Regions from separate parts of the Homo sapiens genome. Here region 1 is linked to region 2. The links are contacts of gene promoters, found by promoter capture Hi-C in human tissues and cell types (Jung and others, 2019). All regions are on one chromosome and are shown on one strand. Each heading gives the region's core, a stretch centred on a gene start or on the middle of the fragment in contact. The rest is flanking DNA. Distances are from core to core; before and after follow the strand shown.

Region 1 (6,366 bases), core at 2,762-5,261, 710 kb after region 2:
TAACCCCTGTAGGCAGAAGCAATATTATGAGTAGAACACCCATTTCTTTACACAAAATTTTGGGAACTCTGGATTAAAGTATTTGAATTTTAATGGAATTGATGCTCTGCTCTGCTTGGTCTAGCACAGTTTTCAGAGATACAGTGAATACTTTCTGGTATTGTTTTTGATCCCTTTCTAGCTTCTTGAAATTTTCTTCAAACCACTCATTGATTAATTCAACTGAGTCAGAATTTGAATACTTCACATGTGCCAGGTTCTATTCTGTACCTGGGGATAAAGCAGTGACCAAAGCCAAAACATACTCTGCCCTCATGGAGCTTAAATTTTAGTTGAGGAGGGTGAAGAACAGGCAATGAATAAAATAATTAAGTGCAGTGGAGAAAAATAAAGGAGGGTTAGGAAATAGGGAATTGGGGTGGAAGCAGTGCTATTTTATACTGGAATAATCTGAGATATACAAAGGCCCTGAGTACAAATATGATAACATGGTTACATATTTGAGGATGTAATATCAGAGAGAGCCCAGTGTGCCTAGGGCAGAGGAAATGAGGTGAATATGGTAAGAGATAAGGTTCTTCCATTTATTTCATTTCAGGAGTTGGTGACCTTCAGAGATGTGGCTGTAGACTTCTCCCAAGAGGAATGGGATTGTCTGGATTCTTCTCAAAGACATCTGTACAGTAATGTGATGCTAGAGAACTACAGGATCTTGGTATCACTGGGTAAGGATATCTTCTTGCAAAACTGAGCTTCTGCTCAAAAGGGGCTCTTTGCTACCACTATTGTGAATTTTTGGATAATATCTGCAAAATTTGGCTGAATGTCTGCTGCCTATGCCAAACAAATGGCTTAGTGTTTGTGGATTTGGCAGTGAACATATTCTTGGCCTGTGCCTGAAGCTTCATCTTCCTTATCCTTCTAATACATGTCCTTTACACATTTCTCTTTTTGCTTACTGTAAACTCCCTTTTCCCTGATGAGCTAAGGATTGAATGTGAGTTCTGGAATATCCACAGCATGACAAAACTCTACTTTTTTTTTTCGTATTTGCAGGACTTTGCTTTTCCAAACCAAGTGTGATATTATTGTTGGAACAAGGAAAAGCACCCTGGATGGTGAAGAGAGAGCTGACAAAAGGCTTGTGCTCAGGTTAGTGAAGAGGAAATTGGCAAAAATCTTTGCACGTGACAGCTCAGCTTGACTCAAAGGTATCACCTCTTCACTCTTCAGGCTTCCAAATTCTTCTCAAATGTTCTAGGTTTTCATAAAAATTTGGGGCCATTTAGGATGTTCTCCCACATTTGTTATTTTTAATTATTTCCCTTCTCTTACTTTCCTATCTCCTTTCTAACAAGTCCCATCCCCTCTCAGTTTCATAAGCCTCTCAGTCTTTAAAAAATCTTGTAGTAGTCTTATAAACTTTTTTTTTTTTTTTTTTTTTTGTGACAGAGTCTCGCTCTGTCACCCAGGCTGGAGTGCAGTGGTGCAGTCTCGGCTCACTGCAAGCTCCGCCTCCCGGGTTCAAGCAATTCTCCTGATTCAGCCTTCCCAGGAGCTGGAATTACAGGCACATGCCACCACGCCCAGCTAATTTTTGTATTTTTAGTAGAGACAGGGTTTCTCCATGTTAGGCTGGTCTCAAACTCCTGACCTCACGTGATCTGCCTGCCTCAGCCTTCCAAAGTGCTGGCATTACAGGCATGAACCACTGTGCCTGGCCTCTTATAAATTTTTGAGCTCTACAGAGCATCAGAAGTGTAGGCAGCCTTGGGGACTGAGTCCTCAACCTGAGGGATCTGATGCTATCTCCAGGTAGACAGTATCAAAATAGAGCTGAGGTAGAGGACACCCACTGCAGAATTCATTGCTTGCTTGTTGGTGGAGAGAAACCCCCACATTCAGTCACAGAAGCCTTCTGTGTTTATTGTTGTGGTGCGAGAGAAAAGGAAAAACAGGTTGCATGTGTGATTTTTCCTAAGGTGCTCATTGTGGGGGAGGTTGTCGTGTGTGTGTGTGTGTGTGTGTGTGTGTGTGTGTGTGTGTGTGTATTTGTAACTTTTTTTTTTTTTTTTGAGACAGAGTCTCGCTCTGTTGCCCAGGCTGGAGTACAGTGGCATGATCTCGGCTCACTGCAACCTCTGCCTCCTGGGTTCAAGTGATTCTCCTGCCTCAGCCTCCCCAGTAACTGGAACTACAGGCACCCACCACCACGCCTGGCTAATTTTTTTGTATTTTTAGTAGAGACGAGGTTTCACCATGTTGGCCACGCTGGTCTCCAACTCCTGATCTCAGGTGATCCGCCAGCCTCAGCCTTCCAAAGTGCTGGGATTACAGACGTGAGCCACTGCACCCAGCCTGTAGCTTATGTTTTTGATACTTTAAGAAACCTTTCTATGTTCTGAGTTCATATAGATATCTGAAAATAGTCTTTTAAAGATTGTCCTTTTATATGTAGGTCCATAATCCAATTGGAACTTATTTTTGAGGATTATTTTAAATAAGAATTTAATTTCTGTATCTTATGGAAAACCAAAGGTCCCAGATATTTTTTGAATAAGTGTTCCCTCTGCCTGTTTTTCTGAATGTTACCTCTTAATATACCAGGTTTTAGTCTATATATGGGTTTGACTTTAAGCTTTATTCAGTTTCATTGATCTCTGTTTCCTTATACCAGTACCACACTGTCTTAATAAAAATAGTTTATTAGAAGGATAATTATCTGCTAGGGAAAATCTCTACAGCTTGTTTAAATTCTTTAGAATTTCTTGTTTGCCCTTTGGACATCAATATAAAGTTTAGGGTCAACTTGTAAATTTCTATCAGAAAACAACAAAATGCTGTTAACTTTTGATTCAAATTTTAACTTTTGATTCAAATTTTATTTATTCTGTAATCAATTCTGGAAATTTTAAAAATTCATTAACATGGTATAGCTCTCCATTTATTTAGGTTTTTTCACTTTTTTCAGTGTTTTATAATTTTCTCCAAAAAAGGCTTTGCACATCTTCTGTTAGATTAAATTGTAAACATTAAACATATTAGTTTTGTTGCTGTGTTAAATGTTATCTATATTTTCTGTTTGTTGCTCATATATAGAAATGAAATTAACTTCGTATGCATTGGCCTTATATCCAGCAACCTTGCCAATCTCTCCTGTTAATAATATTTTTAAATATGTTTGGATTTTATGTATGAGTAGATATATTTGTGAATAATGGTAGTTTCTTCATTTTCAATTCTTATACCTTAATTTATTTTTCTGTTGCCTTTGTCGTATCTCCAGTATAATATGAATCGAAGTAGTGATAACAGGCATTCTTGTCCACTTCCGGTCTTAATAAGAATACTTTAGCATTTTGTTTTTTAATAATTTTGATGCTTAAAAGTTTTGGTACATACCCTTTCATTCCTGTTTGCTAGAGTTTCATTGTGGAAAGCTTTTGAGTTTTAACAAATGTTTTTCTCCATCTGTGGGTGATTTTTACCTCTTAATAGGTTTTAGTTTTTCACATCTTAATGTGGTAAATTACATACATTTTCAAATGTTGAACCAACATTGCATTCCCAAGTTAAACCCATCTTTATATCTTTTCCACTTTTTGCTAGTTGCTGTTTGCCAATATTTTGTTTGGGTGTTTTGCATCTGTATTTATTAGTGAATTTGATCTTCAGTTTTCCTTTCTTGTCAGATTTCGGAATCAAGGTTGATTAGTCTCGTAAATTCTCTTTTTCTTCTTTAGAAACATTTGTGTAAAATAAAAATTATTTGTTTTTTGAATGTTTGGTAGAACTTTGTTCATTTTGGCTTGGAATTTTTATTGTTAAAAGAATTTAAACTAATCATTCAATTTGATATGTTCTAAAATTCTAGGTTTTCTATTTCTCCTAGAGGCAATTAGGGTATTTTTTTCTAAATATTTTTAGTTTTGATGTAAGTTTTCAAACTTATTAGATGAAGTTGTCCATTATTTTTCTGGTTCTCAATGATTTCTTGATCCGTGAATTATTTAGAAGTTTGAAATTGAAGGCTTTTGTTTGGTACTTGTTTAATTGTATTATGGTTAGAGAATGGGATCTCTTCAATATACATTTATTGAAAGTATTTTGAGACTTGCTTTATTTCTTAGGGCTAGTTTTGGTAAATATTCTTTGTGTCCTTGAAAATAATATGTATTTTCTGGTTGTTGAATACAGTGTTTGATATTTGCTCATTAGGTTAAGCTCATTAACTGTGCTGGTCAAATCTTCTGTGTCCTTATGAATTTAAAAAAAATGTCTTTGAGCCATCAATTACTGAGAGACATGTTAAAGAAACTTCTACTCTGGTGGTAAATACATAAATTTTTTTCTTGTAATTGTAACAGCAGTTTTTTTTATATTTTGAAGGTATTTCATTTGGTCATATGTTTTTAGAATGTTTTATTTTTCTAGTGAATTCTTATATTATTGTTACTCTCTTTAATTCTAGTGACTATCTGATTAAGCAAAAAGAATTCACTTAATATTGTTATAGCTATATTTGCCTTTTGTTAATATTTACTTGATGTAGTTTTTTCCTACTCCTTTATTCTCCGGCTTGCTGTGTGTTTCTCTTATAAGCAGTATTTGGATAAACATTTTTTAAAATCCAGTCTGATAACCTTTATCTTTTAACCAAATGATGGTGGTGGTCAGTTAAATTTTTTGGTACTATTAATAGATTTGGATTTATTTTCCACTACCTCACTTTCTTTTATAAATTGTGCCTTTTCAAATTTTTCTTATTTCTTGGTTTTTCTCCATCTCCTAATTTGAATGTTTTACAATCTATTTCTATTCTGTACTGGTTACCTTAGAAAATCTAACATTTATAGTCACCTTAACAAAACCTAAAATTAATTCTAATCTTTATATTTGACCACTAAAAATACAAGAACGTAGCCAGGCACGGTGGCTCACGCCTGTAATCCCAGCACTTTGGGAGGCCGAGGCGGGTGGATCACGAGGTCAAGAAATCGAGACCAGCCTGGCTAACATGGTGAAACCCCGTCTCTACTAAAAATACAAAAATTAGCTGGGCGTGGTGGCATGCACCTGCAGTCCCAGCTACTTGGGAGGCTGAGGCAGGAGAATCGCTTGAACCCAGGAGGTGGAGGTTGCAGTGAACCAAGATCGTGCCACTGCACTCCAGCCTGGGCAACAAGAGCAAAACTCCATCTCAAAAAACAAAACAAAACAAAACACCAAGAACCTTAGACTGTCTTAACTTCACTTACCCTCATTTCAGTTATTCCTTGCTTTTCTTAAATTATTATTTTGCTTTATGAAGTTGTATAATAGACCATTATTATATTTATTTAATTTAGACCATATTATATTTAGTGTTGTTTAGATTTATCCACTTTTGGCTAGGTGTGGTGGCTTATGGCTGTAATCCCAGCACTTTGGGAGGCCAAGGCAGGTGCATCACTTCAGTCTAGGAGTTTGAGACCAGCCTGGGCAGCATGGTGAAACCCCGTCTCTACAAAATGCGAAAATTAGCTGGGTATGGGGTGTGTGCCTGTAGTTCCATTTACTTGGGAGGCTGAGGTGGGAGGGTCGCCTGAGCCCAGGAGTTCAAGGTACAGTGAGCTGAGAACGTGCCACTGCACTACCGCCTAGGTGACAGAGCAAGGCTCTGTCTCAAAAAAAAAAACAAAACAAAAAATTATCCATGTTTGTCATTTTCCCTGTTCACCATTCTGTCCCAGAACTTTTTCCTGAAGTAACTTCTTTATAAATATTTATATACTATTCATATCAACTTTTATTGTTGTTATGTTTTGTTCATTTATATGATAGTTTTGCTGTCATGCATAGAAGAAGCTTTCTCTGTCAGTCATAGATTGACAGATTTTTTTTTTTTTTGAGATGGAGTCTTGCACTGTCACCCGGGCTGGAGTGCAGTGGTGCAATCTCGGCTCACCGCAACCTCCCCAACCCGCGTTCAAGCAATTCTCCTGCCTCAGCCTCCCGAGTAGCTGGGATTACAGGGCGTGCCACCACGCCTGGCTAATTTTTTGTATTTTTAGTAGAGATGGGGGTTTCACTATGTTGGCCAGGCTGGTCTCAAACTCCTGAGCTCGTGATCTGCCCGCCTCAGCCTCCCAAAGTGCTGGGATTACAGGCGTGAGCCATTGTGCCCGGTGACAGATTATTTTTATGAGTGCTTTAAAGATACCATTCCATGCTTTTCTGGCTTCTGTTCTTGCTTTTGAGAAGTCAGTTTTCATTAATATATTCTTCCTTGCAACTTTTAAGAACTTTCTTCTTCTTGCCCTGGTTATTCTGTATTTTCAATGTGATGTATCTAGATGTAAATTTCAGCTGCTGTAGTTGGGATTT
Region 2 (5,966 bases), core at 1,580-4,079:
CTACGACCCCCTCTTTGGGTTCGATTAATTTGCTAAAATAAAATGGCTCACAGACCTCAGGGAAACACATTTACTGGCTGATTATAAGGATATTCCAAAGGATACAGATGAAGAGATGCCTAGGGCGAGGTATGGGGCAAGGGGCACAGAGCCTCCATGCCCTCCCTAGGCACGACCCTCCAGGAACCACCATGTGTTCAGCTCTCTGGAAGCTCTCTGAATCCACCCCTTTTGGGTTTGTAAGGAGGCTTCATTACATAGGCATGATTGATTAAACCACTGGCTACTTGCCATCAACTTAATCCTCAGTCCCCTCCACTCCCCAGGGGTGGGAGGGTAGGGGCTCAAAGTCTCAACCCTCTAATCCTGCCTTGGTCTTTCTGATGACCAGCCCCCATCCTGAAGCTTTCGGTCAATCACTAACATACAAAAAGCCAAAGGCTGGGTGCAGTGGCTCACGCCGGTAATCCCAACACTTTGGGAGGCCGAGGCAGGCAGATCACCTGAGGTCAGGAGTTCGCGACCAGACTGGCCAGTATGGTGAAACCCCGTCTCTACTAAAAAAAACAAATACAAAAATTAGCCGGGCGTGGTGGCGCGTGCCTGTAGTTCCAGCTACTCGGGAGGCTGCGGCAGAAGAACTGCTTGAACCCGGGAGGCAGAGGTTGCAGTGACTGGAGATTGCGCCACTGCACTTCAGTCTGGGCGACAGAGAGAGACTCCATCAAAAAAAAAAAAAAAAAAAAAAAAAAAAAAAAAAAGCCAGCACTTAAGAGATTCCAAGGACTTTAGGAGTTGTATGCGAGGAAATAGGGACAAAGACCAAATCTGTATTTGAGAAAATCACAGAACCGTATGAGTATTTAATTCAATACAGACATGGAAACTGGCCCAAGCATTTACTCACAGATGACTGGGCAAATCCCTGGTGTTATTGGTACAAACTATTGATCGAGCCCCCAATCTCATTCCTACCCCTAAAATATAGCAAAGTGAAAGATCTTATCACTTATTTGGACTGAGATTAACACCATCCCATAAACTGCATGGCTTTCAATCCCAGGGCTATGGCGTGTGATGCCACATAGAATATGCACTAATCTCTGCAGCAATTGAGTTGTTAGGGTAAAGGCTCTTGTTTTTGCCTTCTTTCTCTCACGGCCAAGAAAATTAAGGAACAGGGACACAAAGGATGAGGTCGGAGCGGAAGTTTAATAAGCAAAAGAAGAAAGCTCTCCCCAGCGGAGGGACCCAAAAGAGGGTTGCCAACTAGGAGGCTGAATCTGGGGGGGTTTATTAACTGGGAAGGGGAGGAACGTGGGCTGTCTTGAAGAAAGCACTACCCAGCTTGGCCCTGGGACCTTAGCCCGGGACCAATCCCAGGCTGAAGTGAAAGTTTGGCCCAGGACCAATCAGGGGCTGAAGTGAAAGTTTGGCCCGGGACCAATCAGGGGCTGAAGTGAAAGTTTGGCCCGGGACCAATCAGGAGCTGAAGTGAAAGTTTGGCCCGGGACCAATTAGGGGCTGAAGTGAAAGTTTGGCCCGGGACCAATCAGGAGCTGAAGTGAAAGTTTGGGCCGGGACCAATCAGGAGCTGAAGTGAAAGTTTGGCCCGGGACCAATCAGGGGCTGAAGTGAAAGCTTGGCCCGGGACCAATGAGGGGGTGAAGTTATGATTCAAAGAGGCCGCGCTCACAGTCTAAAGCATGTCCAAAAAAGGAAAGTGGCCGCCGGAACCTGTTAGTCCAAGCTGCACCGTTTCGTAAGCCCCCACCATTTCACAGACCCTGGTCAGAGGGAAACATTCCACCCGGGTTTGGGCTGTGCGAAACATCCTTCCCAACCGCCTGACTTCCTTATCACATCCTGCTGGGCAAAAGCCCAAGAAACATCCTTATCAACTTTCTCCCAGGCAACAAGCCATACCGCCCAGACCCCTCCTGCCCAGGCCTGTAATTACCCCAGCCTGGAAGCGGCAGTGGGCTCTGGCATTTAGTTGGTCCCCGCCATAGAGCCGCCAACTCTCTCTCTTTCTTTAACCCTCGCCTTCCCTTCAAAATCTAACAGAGCCCACCGTGTACATGCCCACAAAAGAAGCGACTATTTCGTGGAAGCCCGCTGGTCACACAAAGGACAAAGGCGTTTCTATGTTGGGCCTCGGTCCCTTATCAGTGCAGCTGAGGAATGTCTTCAGGACAACCCCCCTGTGGAGTTTTCCTTATGTATGCCTGCAGCCTGATTTTTCAGGCTGTTTCTCTGTTTAAAGGACTTTTACCAAGGTCCCACCCTAACTGCCTAAAGAGTTTTTTCTCTCAAGGGGACACACAAAGTCCCAATCGCACACATGCCTCCGCATATCCACTTACCCACTGCCTCACAGCCAATCACACTCTCCTCTCTCACATACACCAAGGGGCCACACAAGTTGCACTTGCACAGCCACAGACCTGCAACTCACGCACACAAGGTACTGCACAGACACGCAAAGTCACACACCCACCCCGGGACACGCAGTCCAACCACACAGTCACCGGTTCTTCACATCCGCACGCACAACGAGGGTCGTCCAGGACACACACACCCACTCCGGGCGCGCACAGTCACAAGCGCCCACCTGATCACCCAGAGTCAGCACCACACAGCCACAGTCACAGACCACGGAGACCCACGGCAGCCATCGCGATCACACACGCAAACTCCTCTCCTCAGCCCTCCACACACAAAAGGACCGGAGCCGGATTCCTCACCCTCAGCATTCTCTGGTTCCGCTCGGGGCCAGCCTAGCCAAGTTCCTCAGGACTCCAAGGCGCGGCGGCAGCTAAATCGGCACAGCAAACGGTCCCGCCACCTGGCTAAGAGGAAGCCAAAATCTCGCGAGACGTGGCGTCGGCCTGCGGGATCCTCTGGGAAATGTAGTCCAGAGCCCGACTGCGGGCTTCCCTATGCCTCTCATTTCCAAGCCTGGCTTGTTTCCTTTTACCGCTCCTCTCCAACGAGGATCGCAGAGCCCTCATGCCGAGCGGCTCGCTATGGGGCCGGCTCGCCCGCTAGAGTGGTCAGGCCTGATTATCCCTGGCAGCTCTGTTATCTGGGGTAAGACACAGGAAAACGTGCTTCCGGTTCTCGGCGGAAGTAGCCCCGAACGGTAGAACCGATGGGAAATGTAGTCCAGGGCAGAAAAGCGGTCAACCCAGCCACGATGCGAGCCAAAGGATTCTTGGCTCCAAGCCTGGTCCTGGCTGTTAGTTTGGAACTCATGCACCCAGATGCTAACTCGCCCTCAGAATGCAGAGGGGATGAAACACTGACCGGACAATTCAATCTGTATATGGGTGAGTCCAGGGCTCAGTCTGCATTGCGCGGAAAATGAAGGTGAAGGTGGAGGTGGGACCTGATGGTCTCGTCCCGGATAGGGTTGAAGAAGTGGGAGAAAAGGAATCAAAATCGTGGATGGGATAAGATTGTGCGCGAATGCTCTCTGGGAGCGGATCGTGGCCGACGAGGGCCCGAAGATGCTGCCTTGTGATCGCAGGTGTGAGTGGAAGCTGTGTGAGTGTCAATGTGAGTTGCCTGTTTGGGAGACCAGCATTGTATTTTTGTATCAGGTAGTAACCTTGGAGCCAGGTATTTGTAAAATTATGATAAGAGGGCATCATTCTGGAGCATCGATTTTATTTGGAGGTTGACAGGAGAGGGAAAAAAACCCCTAATATCTGATAAACAACATAAATAGATTTTTATGTTAAAGTAGTTATATTTATTACGGTCTAGAATGCAAATCCAACATGGCTTTTAAAGCAAGAAAGATTTTTTTTATACAAAGTCAAAGGTATTATTTTTATACACTTACTACAAAACATACAAATAGTATACCAAGCCTAAGAATATAAAGAGTCTAGCTTTAATTAATTGAATGTAAATTTAAAAACAAGCATCTAATAAGTAGTCCTTTTCACACATCGAAAAGCCAATTTCGGAATTTTTTTAAAAACTCAAATTACAAAGTAACAAATATCTGGTGTCTTAGTAACTTGAAGATCAGTACTAATGATTAAGCCAGCTTATATGCTAATATGATACATGAAAAAGCCTGTATTTCACAAATAGCAAACCACTAAAACTTTAATTTTCCACAGAAGCCATTGTTTCACACCAATAATTATGTTAAAGATCAAGACAGGCTAAAAGTTTTTAATGAGCACTGAATCCATTAAAACTTGGCAAATTTTTCCACGAAGGTAGAATTTTAATTTCTGTTTAAACCATGGGTAGATGGTACACCCTTGTGAGGGTGTACTGTAAGTACTTCTAAGGAGCTTTATCAGACTTCATCCCAAATTATGTACCTAGTAAAAGATGTACCAATGTCTACTTTGGAATAAGAAATTATTCCTTGTTTGAGCAAGGATTAAGCAGAAACTGAAAGAAGTGTAGTTTATAGCTTCTTACATAAAGTAGATGGGCACCCCTCAAAAACAAACCAATATCCTGGCTCCTTAAATATCAACATTAATCTAAATAATGTATAGCATGCTCCTGTCCAATCTTTCCCGCTCATTTGTAGTCTTCTCAGATCGATGCTTCATTTTAGTCACACATTTCTATCCTGCAAGACTGGGTACCTGGGCTTTTTGTCTGGTTTTGTAACACTAGGCAGTTTTGGCCTTACTCAAAATATAAGACTGCAAAAGGCCTGTTTTACCTCAACCATACGGCTTCAGGAAATGGTCTGTATTTCCAACAGAAAAGTGGTATCTAACTCTCAGGATGGTTTCTAACAACTGGATAGATACCTGGGTCTTTGCGGCCTGTGATGCAGCCTAACAATACAGGACCTTGTGTGATCAGCTAGGTCTGCTAAAGCAAGGGGACATCCATGTTCTAGATTTTTATTTATTTATTTTTTTTTGAGACGGAGTCTTGCTCTGTCGCCCAGGCTGGAGTGCAGTGGCGTGATCTCGGCTCACTGCAAACTCCGCCTCCCGGGTTCAAGCCATTCTCCTGCCTCAGCCTCCTGAGTAGCTGGGACTACAGGCGCCCGCCACCACGCCCGGCTAATTTTTTGTATTTTTCGTAGAGACGGGGTTTCACCGTATTAGCCAAGATGGTCTCGATCTCCTGACTTCGTGATCCGCCCGCCTTGGCCTCCCAAAGTGCTGGGATTACAGGCGTGAGCCACCTCGCCCGGCCCATGTTCTAGATTTTTTATTCTGGTTTAGCAGGATCCAAACTGCCTGTCCTGAAGAGACTCTCTTTCTCTTCCATACAACGGCTGGCCTCTACCAAGTTAACTGCTTCGTGGGGGGAAAATATTGCCTTTCCTTTGGTCTGCATGTTTTAAGGGAAATACCAAATACACCTACAGGAGTTTATCAATAATAGACAAGGCTGATTTCAAACTCTTTCAGGAGATAAACTGGAGGGGAAGACGAATGGCAGGAGGGTGAAGAGGAAACTGAATTACTGTGCAAACACCCGCCACTCAAATCCGGGTGGTTACTGCAGAGTGAATAACGATAGGTACTATTTCGTGTAAGGCAAAGTCCTTTGAAAGGGCTCCTAGAGCGTCAAGGCCTCCACCTGATGAATGAATGAGTCAGGCAGGCCCAGCTCCACTTCACGGATGGGAAAACTGAGGTACGAGGCCTCGCTGAAAGATGCGAGGCAGAGCGGAGAACCAGAAGCACCACTTCTCTCAGGCTGATGCTCTAATCTCGGCTCCCCCCGCCCCTACAATGGCGTAGACGGCCTCCGCCGCCCGACTCACACACACCCTCCCCCGGGAACGGCAAGTCTCCTCGGGTTCCAAGGACAGGGTCAAAAGACAAGAGGCCCGAGGCGCTCCCGCCGTGATTTGCAGCCAGATACCGTTGGGAGCGCAGCCAGAGAGCGTTGGGAGCGTGCGTACCTCCAGCCCAACATGGCGGCGGCAGCGGCCGCCCCCGACCCCAAGCCCTCCCTCAGGG

Evidence for each region. The method cuts DNA at HindIII sites, captures the fragments that hold promoters and counts their contacts. A contact is called where the count stands out against the background at its distance.
Region 1: a fragment that was not itself captured here is called in contact with the fragment with the promoter of ZNF850 in region 2 in 2 of the 25 tissues and cell types used here (adrenal gland and dorsolateral prefrontal cortex).

Annotation. Positions count from the first base shown.
Region 1 is chr19:37,475,283-37,481,648 of GRCh38, forward strand. It overlaps ZNF570 (zinc finger protein 570), which reads left to right. Exons shown (of 5, transcript NM_144694.5): 3 at 599-725; 4 at 1,057-1,152. Among named protein-coding and RNA genes, the nearest start is that of ZNF570, 9.1 kb to the left of the region's middle. The HindIII fragment of the contact is 4,482 bases long and covers 1,771-6,252 here.
Region 2 is chr19:36,769,978-36,775,943 of GRCh38, forward strand. It overlaps ZNF850 (zinc finger protein 850), which reads right to left and starts at 2,830. Exons shown (of 5, transcript NM_001193552.2): 1 at 2,748-2,830. It overlaps LOC728485 (a long non-coding RNA gene), which reads left to right and starts at 3,176. Exons shown (of 2, transcript NR_164117.1): 1 at 3,176-3,532; 2 at 5,409-5,966. RefSeq lists a silencer at 2,370-2,664 and enhancers at 2,651-2,790, 2,931-3,090. The HindIII fragment of the contact is 7,262 bases long and covers 1,024-5,966 here.